Linked DNA regions of Homo sapiens: region 2 is linked to region 1. Evidence: promoter capture Hi-C in human tissues and cell types (Jung and others, 2019). All regions are on one chromosome and are shown on one strand. The core of a region is centred on a gene start or on the middle of the fragment in contact, and the rest is flanking DNA. Distances in the headings are between cores, read along the strand shown. Region 1 holds the start of SNRPD1 (small nuclear ribonucleoprotein D1 polypeptide). Region 2 holds the start of GREB1L-AS1 (GREB1L antisense RNA 1).

Region 1 (6,922 bases), core at 1,319-3,818:
TATCAAAGTTTAATGTGTGTAGGACTCACCTGGGGAAACTTTATTTTTTTTAATTTTTATTATTATTATTATTTTTTGAGACGGAGTCTTGCTCTGTCGCCCAGGCTGGAGCGCAGTGGCACAATCTCCACTCACTGCAACCTCCGCCTCCCGGGTTCAAGCAATTCTTCTGCCTCAGCCTCCCGAGTAGCTGGGACTCAGCCTCCCAAGTAGCTGGGACTACAGGCATGCGCCACCACGCCCAGCTAATTTTTGTATTTTTAGTGGAGACGAGGTTTCACCATGTTGGCCAGGATGGTCTCGATCTCTTGACCTCATGATCTGCCCATCTCGGCCTCCCAAAGTGCTGAGATTACAGGCATGAGCCACCATGCCCAGCCGATAAGTATTGTCTTACAATATCTAAGAGTTCTGTTGATCAGCGATGAAGTCTAGGCTAGAGATACAAATCAAAGTCATGGTTTTGGAGGAGATTACCAGGTTAAAAGAAAAAGTATACATAAAAAGACTACAGCCACAAGCCGGGAAACACTGTGACATGTATTGGCTCCATAGGGAAGGAGGAACCAGCTAAGGAGATTTAGAAAGAGTAGTTAGAGGCTGGGCATGGAGGCTCTGGGCCTGTAAACCCAGTACTTTGGGAGGCCACGGCAGTGGAATCTCTTGAGCCCAGGAGTTGGATACTAGCCTGGGCAACATAGTAAGACCTCTTCTCTACGAAATAAAAAATAAAATATTAGCTGGGCATGGTGGCACGCACTTGTGGTCCCAGCTACTGAGAAGGCTGAGGCAGGAGGATAGCTTGAGCCCAGACGGTCAAGGCTGCAGTGAGCCCTGATTGTGCCATTGCACTCCTGCCTGGGCAACAGAGCGAGAAACCCTGTCTATAAACAAAACAAAACAAAGCAAGAGTAGTTAGTAGGATAAGGAAAAAGGCCAGGTGAGCTTGGCATCCTGAAACCCGAAAGAGGGAAGGGGAGTGTTTGTGTTAAATTTTGATGAAGCTCACATACTAAAGAGACAATAATGCCGGGCGCGGTGGCTCACGCCTATAATCCCAGCACTTTGGGAGGCCGAGGCGGGCGGATCACGAGGTCAGGAGATCGAAACCATCCTGGCTAACCCCGTCTCTACTAAAAATACAAAAAAATTAGCCGGGCGTGGTGGCTGGCGCCTGTAGTCCCAGCTACTTGGGAGGCCGAGGCAGGAGAATAGCGTGAACCCGGAAGGCGGAGCTTGCAGTGAGCCGAGATCGCGCCACTGCACTACAGCCTGGGCGACAGAGGGAGACTCTGTCTCAAAATACATACATACGTACGTACATACATACATACATAAAAAGACGATAATTAGCGGGCCATGGTGATGCGCGCCTGTAATCTCAGTTACTGGAGAGGCTGAGGCACGAGAATGGCTTGAAACCGGGAGGCAAGGGTTGCAGTGAGCTGAGATCGCGCTACTGCACTCCGGCCTGGGCGACAGAGTGAGACTCCATCTCAAAAAAATAAAAAATATATATATTTTGATGAGATGTTGAGAAAGATGAAGACTGAAAAGTTTGTCTTATAGATTGGAACTTAAAGTGAAAATAATCTGCTACATTGTGGATTTTATTTTTATTATTATTATTTTTTGAGACGGAGTCTCGCTCTGTTGCCAGGCTGGAGTGCAGTGGCACGATCTCAGCTCACTGCAACCTCCACCTCCTGGGTTCAAGCGATTCTCCTGCCTCAGCCTCCCGAATAGCTGGGACTACAGGCGCGCATCACCACGCCCCGCTAATTTTTGTATTTTTAGTAGAGGCGGGGTTTCACCATGTTGGCCAGAATGGTCTCGATCTCTTGACCTCGCTATCTGCCCGCCTCGGCCTCCCAAAGTGCTGGAATTACAGGCTTGAGCCACAGCGCCTGGCCCATTGTGTGATTTGCTTCAGGTACAGTAAGCAATGCTAGGTTCCTGGTGTTGGAACAGAATCAGCATAAGACTTTGGGCTTCTCTAAGACCTTCTTTCCGTTCAGTGAGGAATTTGTATTAGGTGCTGCACTCACAGTGCCCTGCTGTTCAGAAACGTGATGGTGACAGTACTTTTTTTTTTTTTTTTTTTTTTTGGGAGACGGAGTTTCGTTCTTGTTGCCCAGGCAGGAGTGTAGTGGTGCGATCTCCGCTCACTGCAGCCTCCGCCTCCCGGGTTCAAGCGATTCCCCTGCCTCAGCCTTCCGAGTAGCTGGGATTACATGCGCCCGCCACCACGCCCAGCTAATTTTTTGTCTTTTTAGTAGAGACGGGGGTTTCACCCTGTTGGCCAGGCTGGTCTTGAACTCCTGACCTCAGGTGATACCCCCGCTTCGGCCTCCCAAAATGCGACAGTCCTATTAATTGGATTTAATCTCTTCGAATCTCCCTCTCTTGTAGGACATTTTTCTCCAAGACCAGCCCTCGATACCCTCAGCCGTCGCAAGGCAACCTCCAGCCGCCAGGGGCCGCAGTCGCGCTCCTCGCGGCCGGAAGAGAGTGCGGCCCAGCGCAGCCTCGGCGTTTCCGCCATGCGCCTGCAGTGCTCCGCGCGCTCTTGACGTCCGGAGCCCCTGGAGTAGGCGCTTCCGGCCATTCATACTGCAGTCGGTCAGTGTTCGGTTGAAGGATTCTGTGTGCTGTCGGACCCAGAGGGTGACGGCGCCGCTAGGATGAAGCTCGTGAGGTGAGGGAGTGACCAAGCAGCTCTGGGGGCTGTGAAGGGAGGGCTTGGCCCGGAGTCCGGAAGGCTGGGCTCTCCCATTTGCAGGAGGCGGGAAAGCCGCGTGTGCGCGGCCTGCTAACGGCCGGCCTTACTGCGCCCGCAGCTCGTGCTCGGGCCTGGGCTTCCGCCTGGGTCGCTCGCGGATCCCGCGTGTCTTCCAAGAGATTGGTATAAAGGCCGAGCCTTTTCTTCCTGCCTAGTGACTTAGAGGCTTTAAAGATGCAGCGCCTCCTGGGACACATCTCCCTCTTACAGTTACTCATTTTCTTTTTGAGTGGAACTCCCCAGTCCTGCTTAACAGTACTTAGAAAGCTGTATGAGCTTATCTGGAAACAAACCTGTTTGCAAAATATTTTAAATCAGAGAAGGACTTCCGGCTTCACAAGTTTTTGTTTTTTTAAATAAAGATGGTGTCTCACTTTGTTGACCAGGCTGGTCTCGAACTCCTGGGCTCAAGCTTTCTGCCCGCCTCGCCCTTCCAAAGGGCTGAGATTACAGGTTTGAGCCACCGTGCCCGGCCGATTTTTAAGTTTACCTTTTTATCCTCCTTAGATTTGTGATTGATTATTCCACCTCTATTTCCCTTTAAGGTAGGCTTTTTATTTAGGAAAATCTCCCAATATAGGGCAGAAATTATCACAACGTAATTGTGGCTGATTACTCAGATAATATATAGTTCTCCTGTTTTATTTCTTAAGAAATAAATAGACCCTGTCAGTTAGGTGAGTCTTCTGAAAACTTGTTTGCTGATGTGAATAATTCTAAACTACCTGCAAGTAGATTTGGTTTTGGTGTTTTTCCTTGAGACTAAGCCTGGAACAGAGGCAGACGTTTCTAATAGCTAAGCCAGCAATTATAAATATTTAGCTTGTTTTTTTCCTGTTGAGTCAAGGATTGTCAATATCCGCTAAATAGTTATTGGGCACCTGTTACATACTAGGCGCTGGTAATAGGATTTTTTAAAAGGCAGAGTACCTGCCTTGTTGGAGTTTTCTGGTTAGTGGGGATGACAGACAAGTAGATAACGTCTGAAGTAACGTTTGTTTGAAACGTTTTAAATAACACATAAAAGCCTTCAACACTCAGGGAGGAGGCCAGGCGCAGTGGCTCACGTCTGTAATCCCAGCACTTTGGGAGGCCAAGGCGGGTGGATCACTAGGTCAGGAGTTCGAGACCAGCCTGACCAACATGGTGAAACCCCGTCTCTACGAAAATTACAAAAGTTAGTGGGGCGTGGTGGCGCGCGCCTTTAATCCCAGCTACTCAGGAGGCTGAGGCAGGAGAATCGCTTGAACCCAGGCGGCAGAGGTTGCAGTGAGCCGATATCGTGGCACTACGCTCCAGCCTGGGCGACAGAGCGAGACTCCATCTCAAAAAAAAAAAAAAAAAAAAAAAATTATATTCAGGGAGGAGTTGGTACAAAAGACATTTAAGGTTAATTTTTGGTATATTTTTATTTGAACTATAACTTTGGATAGGAAGTCATAGAATTTAAAGTGCATTTTTTAGGCTGGACGTGGTGGCTCACGCCTGTAATCCCAACACTTTGGGAGGCTGAGGCAGGCGGATCGCCTGAGGTCAGGAGTTCAGGACCTGCCTGGCCAACGTGGTGAAACCCATTCTTTCGAAAAAATACAAAAATTAGCCGGGCATGGTGGCGGGCGCCTGTAATCCCAGCTACTCAGGAGGCTGAGGTAAGAGGATCACTTGATCCTGGGAGGTTGCAGTGAGCTGAGATCGCACCACTGCACTCCAGCCTGGGCAACAGAGTGAGACTCGGTCTCAAAAAAAGAAAATTACATTTTTTGAAATTTCTCCATACCTGCCAATCTGAATCTTAATCCACTCATAGTTCAATTTTGTGTAATACACCTTGGATTCCATTTGTTCCCTTTAAAGATACTGCATGTTATGACAATTTTCCAGTAATTTTTAATACCTGTACTGAATCCTGTTTTGTGTCTTAGGTAAAATATAGAAACAAATTTTTTTTCTTACCAGAGAATGTATTTTTCCTCCAGAAAATGATTGTTTGACTAACTGGTTTGCATTTTCAGTAGATTTATTTCTGTATCTCAGTTGGCAGCATTGTCATCCTTATTCTCACTGTCACCCTAACCAAAAACCTGGGAGGTGAGCTTGACTTTTTCTCTCCTGATGTCCTTGACATTTGATACATTGCCAATTTTGCCAGTTTTACCTACTTCATAAAAGTGACCCACATTATCCTGTTTGGTTTTTGGGTTCAAATAGTGTGTTTTATACTGAGGGACACTGTGTTACTATTTGATATCCAAGTTTCACTAAGTGGAAAGAATTCAGACAGTGAAAGATTCATCTGAAAATAATTTGAATCCATTTGGTTCCTGGGCTCAGTTAGGGAGGGATAATTGTGTATTTGTCCTGCCCATAGTAGCCTTTCATTCCAGTCACCACCATTAAGTTCAGGCCCTTTTTATCCCACTCATGGATTTTTGTTTTCCTTCTTTAAGGTAAATATCTTATACAATGAAATGCAGTGTATATTTCCTGCTATTGAAAAATGTAAACACTTTTGTAACCTAAACCCATATCAACAGAAGTAACATTACCAAAACCTCAGACAGTTTCCTCAAGCCTTTCCCAGGCAACCTCTGGCTCCATACCCCTAGATGCAACCAGTTTCTTCCACCAGAAATGAATTTTGCCTGCGCTAGAATTTCATATATTTGGAATCACAAAGTATTTTTGCGTAAAACTTCTTTTAGTTACATGTTTTTGAGATTCATCCACATTGTGAAGTGTATCAGTAATGTGTTCATTTTTATTACTGGATATTAGTGCATTGTGTGTTTGGAAGTTCTGTATTTTAGGCCGGGCGCAGTGGCTCACGTCTGTAATCCCAGCACTTTGGGAGGCCGAGGCGGGTAGATCACCTGAGGTCAGGAGTTTGAAACCAGCCTGACCAACATGGTGAAACCCCATCTCTACTAAAAATACCAAAAAAGTAGCTGGGCATGGTGGCAGGTGCCTGTAATCCCAGCTACAAGGGAGGCTGAGGCAGGAGAATCCCTTGAACCCAGGAGGTGGAGATTGCAGTGAGCTGAGATCACGCCATTGCACTCCAGCTTGGGCAACAGAGCGAGACTCCGTCTCAAAAAAAAAGAAAAAAGAAAAAAAAAGCTCCGTATTTTAAAAAATTACAAGAAAATAAAATAAAAAGTTATGTATTTTGTTTACAACTACGTTGAATATTCTTCAGGTTTTTGGAGGGAAACAAATTTTCGTGGGTAAATACTCGAGTGGAGTTGATGGACTGTAACATAGTTATGTGTTTAGCTTTTTAAGAAATTTCCAGACCATTTTCCAAAGTGGTTGTACCATTTTACACTTCCATTAACAATATATTAGAATAACAATTGGTCCACATCCTCACCAGTATGTGGTGTTGTTTGCTCAGTCTTTAATTTTAGCCATTTTAGTGGGTATGTAGTGGTATCTCCTTAGGGTTTAGTCGGTTTTTTGCTTATTTGTTTGTTTTTGAGGCGGAGTCTCACTCTGTCACCCAGGCTGGAGTGCAGTGGCATGATCTTGGTTCACTGCAAGCTCCGCCTCCTGGGTTCACGCCATTCTCCTGCCTCAGCCTCCCGAGTAGCTGGGACTACAGGCGCCTGCCACCACGCCCGGCTAATTTTTTGTATTTTTAGTAGAGACGGGATTTCACCGTGTTAGCCAGGATGTTCTCAATCTCCTGACCTCGTGATCCGCCCGCCTTGGCCTCCCAAAGTGCTGGGATTACTGGCGTGAGCCACTGCGCCCAGCCCAGAGTTGTAGAAATTAGATCTGTGTCCTGGATACCAGTTCTTTGTCAGATGTGTTTTCTCTCAGTGTGTGGTTTACATGTTCATTTCCTTAATAGTGTCTCTCTTCTTGTAGCTCAGGCTGGAGTACAATTGTGCGATCTCAGCTCACTGCAACCTCTGCCTTCCAGGTTCAAGCGATTCTCCTACCTCAGCCTCCCAAGTAGCTGGGATTACAGGCGCCTGCCACCACGCCTGGCTAATTTTTGTATTTTTAGTAGAGACAGGGTTTCACCATGTTGGTCAGGCTGGTCTCGAACTCCTGACCTTGTGATCCACCCGCCTTGGCCTCCCAAAGTACTGGGATTACAGGCGTGAGCCACCATGCCTGACTGATCGATTTTTA
Region 2 (6,724 bases), core at 4,107-6,606, 160 kb before region 1:
GCAGAACCTTAAAGGGTTGTGCCTTGAGCACCCCTTCTCTGGGGAGCTTGGCCAGGCCACCTTTCTGAAAGTGCACCTACCATCTGGAGTGCAAACACAGCCATTGTCTTAAACAATTATTTTCCAGTTTTCCACTTAGCCTTTTTATCTTGTTTATCCACTGGCCCTACACCCATTTTTTTTCTTCTCCAGCTACACCCCTTTGATGGAGTCCCATCGTGCTTTCCATCATTGAGGTCATAACTGTGGACCTCCCTGGAAGGTCTTTAAGCTATAGGGTAAGGGGGATATGTAGGTCATGAACCCTTCACTTCCTCTATCTGATATATTCTCCGAAGCCCCAAAGTGGGTGTATGCAGGTGCCCTGACAATACTAGAGTGGCTTAGCAGCATTTACATCGAAATGTCCTTTATTTTGCAAATGGCAGTAGGCCATCTAATTATACACTCACTCTATCACTTCAAGCCACTGATTTACTTAGAAAAATATTTGAGATGTGGCCGGGCACGGTGGCTCACGCCCGTGATCCCAACACTTTGGGAGGCCAAGGTGGGCGGATCACCTGAGGTGGGGAGTTCGAGACCAGCCTGACCAACATGGAGAAACCCCATCTCTACTAAAAATACAAAATTAGCTGGGCGTGGTGGCGCATGCCTGTAATCCCAGCTACTCAGGAGGCTGAGGCAAAAGAATTGCTTGAACCCGGGAGGCGGAGGTTGCAGTGAGCCCAGATCACGTCATTGCACTCCAGCTTGGGCAACAAGAGTGAAACTCCATCTCAAAAAAAAAGAAAAGAAAAGAAAAGAAAAAAATATTTGAGATGTAAAATTACACATAAAAATATTAGTATGCACTCTTGTGAAATTTTTTAATTTTAGAAAATACTTCAGTGTTAGGAGATAATAAAAACACTGGACTAAATAACTTTAAAAGAAAGAAAAAAGCTTTATTAGGGCATATTCAGTGTTTGGTGCATTAGCTAGCAATCTTGACTAGAACTCTGTGCCCTGAGAGGCTGCCTTGACTTGGCCTCTGCTTCGACATGGCCTTTTGAAATTTACAAGGCACCAATTTCATGATAAACCTAGGACTTACTAATGATGCTTATTGAAAGGTAATACAATTATAAAGCTCATCTGGGTCCACAGCTCATTTGATGACATAATTTTAATTGCTACATACTGAAATTAGATTATAGACTGTGTTCTAAGATCTAAAGCCAACTTCTAAATGCACCCAGAATTAGTAAAACCAGGCTTCATAAAGTGATGATATAGCCAACCAAGAAAATCACTATAGCACTCTTTTTCAGTTTGTTTGTTTGTTTGATTATTTGTTTGTTTGTTTTGAGACCGAGTCTCACTCTGTTTCCCAGGCTGGAGTGCAGTGGTGCGATCTCGACTCACTGCAACCACCACCTCCCATGTTCAAGCAATTCTCATGTCTCAGCCTCCCGAGTAGCTGGGACTACAGGCGTGAACCACCACACCCTGCTAATTTTTGTATTTTTAGTAGAGACAGGGTTTCACCATGTTGGCCAGGCTGGTCTCAAACTCCTGATCTCAGGTGATCCACCTGCCTTGGGCTCCCAAAGTTGGGATTACAGGCATGAGTCACCACGCCCGGCCTCCTTTTCAATCTTAATAGCAATTTTTAAAATCGGAGTCTAATTTAATTAAATGAACCAAGTGGTCAAAATAAGATATCTTTTCTTAAAGTACTAAATGCTCTTATCTTTTGTAAAGAAAAAGAAAAGAAAAGAAAAAAAGAAACAATTTCAATTTAATTACACAGATTCTTCTCTGACCTGCAGGATCAGTTCTTTCCTGAATTTGACTTGCAGTCAATCAGTTAGGCCTCTCGATATACATGAATAGCTATTTCTCTTTTAAAACCTAAGCTTTGTACATTGAGACATCTCTATCCCTCAACAACTGTTCTGGAGTCCTTTATTTATTTATTATTTATTTATTTCTTTATTTCTTGCCTCTGGAGGTTTCAAGAAGGCAAGCAAGAATAGTTTCACATATGGCATAGATTATAGACATTTAAAAAAATAAATCTAAACTTCTAAAAGGATTTTTAATACTTCAGCGGCTCAGTTACTTAGAGGTATCAGAGAAGAAGAAAAGCAAGATTCTTCAGAAGGAACCATACCTCTTCACTACAGTCACTTTTAAAAAATCTCAGTCATTTCACAGTCAGAAAATCTTTGAAGTAGATAATGAAATCAGCAAATCCAGAGATTCTTGTAAGGCTCTGAGTCTATTTAAACCTTGACTTTTCCTATTAAGGTAGTTCTTTCTGAAAAGTCATTAAAACTGATACCTCAGCTAACCTAAGTTATTGGAGATCAGCACTTGAAGGAAAAGATTATTGTTATCAAGCTTGCGAAAGTGGAGAAAAGACACCTGCAATGTAATTGTAAAGGCTGAGGATGAGGTACTGGGTGTGGTGGCTCACGCTTGTAATCTCAGCACCTTGGGAGGCTGAGGCAGAAGGATCACTTGAGCCCAGAAGTTCAGAACTGCAGTGAGCTATGATTGTGCCACTGTACTCCAGCCTGGCAGACAGACAGAGACCCTGTCTCTAATTAAAAAAATTTAAAAAAAAAATTTTTTTAAAAGGCTGAGGATGAAAAAGTGATAGTTGATTTTTGGAAACAAGGCATTTTACTCTAAGAAGTCTCTTACCTCATTTAAACTTAATACCTTTTCCTCCACTTCTTGATTCCTAATTGTACATCAGTCAAAACTGTATAAAAGCGAGCTTTAAGGCAACAAAGGATGTTGTGAACATGTTTAGTAATTTTATTTTCCCAGAATGCCTTTGTGCTTTCAATTAATTATGCCTCCTGATAGAATATGTTACTTAGTCCTGGAGTGAGTCTTATGGACTACTAACCAGGCCCCTGAGCTTTCAGGTTGTTAATGAAAGACGGTAGGGAATTGGAGACAGCCAGGGCCACCTGCTTTTCAGCTGTCATGTTCTGGTGGAAGAAAGCGTTAAATAAATGACCACCTTCTATCCACTTTGAGCTCACTGAAAAGTGTTTACCTAGTGACAATTAACCATGATGCCAATTTGATAAAGCTGAATGAAGATCAGACATCTTGGTGGCTCCTAGGTGATTTTTTTTTAAAGAGCATCCCTCCACATTCCCAGCAAGTTTTTTGAGGACAGTAGAGGCCAGGCACGGTGGCTCACACCTGTAATCCCAACACTTTGGGAGGCTGAATAGGGTGGATACTTGAGGTCAGGAGTTTGAGAGCAGTCTGGCCAACATGGTGAAACCCCATCTCTATCAAAAATACAAAAATTAGCCAGGCATGTTGGGCATGCCTGTAATCCCAGATACTCCGGAGGCTGAGACAGGAGAATTGCTTGAGGCCAGGAGGTGGAGGTTGCAGTGAGCCGAGATCGCGCCACTGCACTCCAGCCTGGATGACAAAGGGAAACTGTCTCAAAAAAAAAAAAAAGCAGCAGCAGCAGCATAGAAGAAACACAGACATAATGTATACATTACCATTTTCTTGCCCTGTTTCCATGTATAGAGGAGAAAAATCTGTTTATGAGAATTCTACTCTCCTACCTCTCCCTGGCCTCCACCCAATCCTGGAAAAACTGTTTTCTCCAATTAAAATTGTTGTTTTTATAATGTATAAGATTTTATTTAATTTTCCATATCTGAAGAGCATTACTAAACACCTCATTTTCTTACTTTCCCAGAAAAGATGGGAAGGGCCAGAGAAACCACTTAGATCCCTATTAGAGGAAGGAATGGGTCTGACTCATTTGTGGTGCCTCCTTCTCATGCAGAAGTCCAGCCCATCACCCCTTTGTTCTTCCATAAGGGGCTTTTAGCCATGGGTTCTGGGGCTGTTGCTTGGTCTCAGATCACAGACACTGAGGTGTCTGAGCTGGTTTATGGGAGCCTGAGTTTCAAATATTGGGTTCACACAGCAAAAGAAATGATTGAATAGAGGGAGTGACTGTATTCTCACTGCTTTCAATTTAAACTAAATGTTGAAATCTTAGTTCATTTGTGTCATTTGGATACCAAACATTGACTTGCTTATTTTGTTCTAAAGGCTGGTTGAGTTTCTAAAGAGAATAAGGAAGAAAATCCCCCTGATTCCAGGGGCCACAGGTCAGCAGTATAAGTTTTGCTCCAACTGGTTGGAGAAGAGGGCCAAATGGCATATTTAACAATCCAGAATGCTGGGGAATAACTAGATCATGAAAGCGTTCTCTATCTGGGAAAAATGTGAGGCTGCCTCCAATATCACTTGGGAGTGAAAAATAATTAAACTTCATTTCCTGCACAGTATTCTCAAAATTAGGCTTAGAAGCAACACATTAAAATGTTTTCCAAAATGCCTATGACTAAAATGAGAACTGAAACTTAAAATCGGTTATATACCAGTAGGTTGGCTTCTTTTTTCATTAGTCATTAACAATTTCTATAATGCCAAGCTTAATAGGTCAAGAAATATGCCATGTGCAAGGACCAGCTCCGAGGGCATACAGTGGAATTAATGGTTTCTCTTGGTACCTCCTCTTTTAAAGAGATCAGGAATACAGAAAAACAGAAGCCTGATTTTTTTTACAAAGATTGAGGCAGAAAGAAAAATAATTTCCAACAGGGAATGATTAGTAGGGACTCTATACTTGTGACCACTCCAAGAAAAAGAGGTTATTTTCTAGTTGGAGTATGTATGATGGGCTGAGAAGGACTGCAGGAAAGCATATGGGTGTGTGTGTCTCTCCTCCCTGTGATTCTTTAAATTCCAGCTGTAATTCTCTTCTATATAGGTCCTGATCAGGTACCTCTCAGGGAAGAATTTGAGCAAATTATGCTGAAAGCTATGCAAGAATTTACTCTGAGAGAAAGAGCCCTGCAGATAGGTGCTCAGTGTGTCCCTGTGTCACCAGGACAACTCCCCTGGCTTGCTAGATTAATTGCCAGCGTATCTCAAGACTTGGTTCATGTGGTTGTGACCCAGAACTCTTTGGCGGAGGGCATTTCAGAGACCTTAAGGACTCTCAGTGAAATGAGACACTATCAAAGGCTGCCAGATTATGTGGTGGTAATTTGTGCATCGAAAATCAGAGGAAATGAATTTTGTGTGGTAGTGTTAGGTGAGTAATTTTTTTGTTTTTTGTTTGTTTAATCAATTCATTCGACCATTTTTCCATTTAAAAATGTGTGTTATGTGTTTCAGGCATCCACATAATCAACCTCTGATTAATTGCTGGAGCTTGGGCTCATCCTCCTAATTTTAACTTTCCCTTTCCTTCTCAGATCAGGTTTTGTGTAGCCCTCAGTTTGGCTGGTGCCCCTGTCAGCTGGTTGTGGGAGCATTATTTCAAAGCTCTCCCTAGTAACAGATACCCCTGTCTCATGTAACTGCTGTCCTTTAAAGATTTTGGAAATGTTACTACTCTAGCATGTGATAAAGCCAGTGCCACAGGTGGCCTAAGCCAGTTAATCGAATTTGCCAGAAAATTAGCTCATATATTCCCCTTCTCACTGAACAGTCTATTTAATATTGTAACATAGTCTCTAAAGAAAAGATTCAGAAAGTTGGTACACTACAAAATTGGGGGGTGGGAGGGGATTTTTGTTTGTTTGTTTTGCACTGTGCAGATTTTCTATCAGGCACCCTCTTGGGTAGCCATTTGGACTACATTTTGCTTCTCTCTTCTCTGTACTGAATGGCTCTCACCTCTTCCAGCAAAGAAGCTAAGAAAACCCCCTCACTTTGACAAAACCTGTCTGCCCATTTTTCTGTGCTACATGTATTTCCAGAAAGCTTCATCAGTGTGATACATTAATATTTTTTCATTTTTATTTGTAAAAAACATGTTTATATTTTTAAAGCAAATTCATTATAACCATGCAAGCACAATTTTTATAAGGTTTTTCATACTCTTCCCTAGTCTGTTTTTCCCCCATGTTCTCAGCCCCTGGGCATCTGCCCAATTGGCCAGCCCTGGGGCAGCCATGGTGTTGCTCACAGCCCCTGGCGGGGACAGGGACCTTCCTTAGTCATTAAACACAAACGTGCATATTTTCAGTTACATAAGGTACATCATTTTGTTCCCCTGATCATCTGTATTATAAACATTTCTGTTTCTGTCTAGAGTCAGAATTGATATTTCAAATGCTATATAATTGTCCATACCTTTTGATGTGTCATAATTTTCTTAACCCAAGTCCCTATAGTGACATCCTTTGATTGTTTCCAATTGTTGCCATTATAAGTAATGTTCCAGCAACATTTGTTCTGTTGATGAGTCTTCTCTTCTCTCCTCCATCCTGCAGGTCAGCACCAGTCCCGAGCTCTGGCAGAGAGCATGCTCACCACAAGTGAGTTTTTGAAAGAAATTAGTTATGAGCTTATCACAGGAAAGGTCAGTTTCCTGGCATCACATTTCAAAACCACATCATTAGGTGAGTGGTTGTAAGATTTGGCAACACTGGCAGCCCCTAGTTGTATGATTTTCTGAGTTTAAATCTTAGCCTGTCAAGATGAGTGTGGAGCTCAAGCTTGCCAGCTGATCTTTCATTTGAAATGGTTTATCCTAAGTATTTTGTCACTAACACCACAGGAAGCAGTAAGGGGGTCTAGAGGAAGGCCCATTGGTACTGGATTCAAAAGTCTCAGCTCAGCCACAACCTTGTTGAGTGACCTTGGGCGAGTTTCTCTCTCCCTGGAA

Evidence for each region. Contacts are between HindIII fragments. The study calls those that stand out against the background at their distance.
Region 2: a contact is called between a fragment that was not itself captured here and the fragment with the promoter of SNRPD1 in region 1, in 3 of the 25 tissues and cell types used here (aorta, heart right ventricle and mesenchymal stem cells).

The regions. Positions count from the first base shown.
Region 1 is chr18:21,609,746-21,616,667 of GRCh38, forward strand. It overlaps SNRPD1 (small nuclear ribonucleoprotein D1 polypeptide), which reads left to right and starts at 2,569. Exons shown (of 4, transcript NM_006938.4): 1 at 2,569-2,698. The coding sequence starts at 2,685. RefSeq lists a silencer at 2,318-2,367 and an enhancer at 2,628-2,717. The HindIII fragment of the contact is 13,798 bases long and covers 1-6,922 here.
Region 2 is chr18:21,444,694-21,451,417 of GRCh38, forward strand. GREB1L (GREB1 like retinoic acid receptor coactivator) reads left to right here. Exons shown (of 33, transcript NM_001142966.3): 12 at 4,817-5,143; 13 at 6,330-6,458. GREB1L-AS1 (GREB1L antisense RNA 1) reads right to left here and starts at 6,354. Exons shown (of 4, transcript NR_187982.1): 1 at 6,190-6,354. LOC124900410 (small nucleolar RNA SNORD23) reads right to left here and starts at 6,063; the gene lies at 5,960-6,063. The HindIII fragment of the contact is 3,848 bases long and covers 3,433-6,724 here.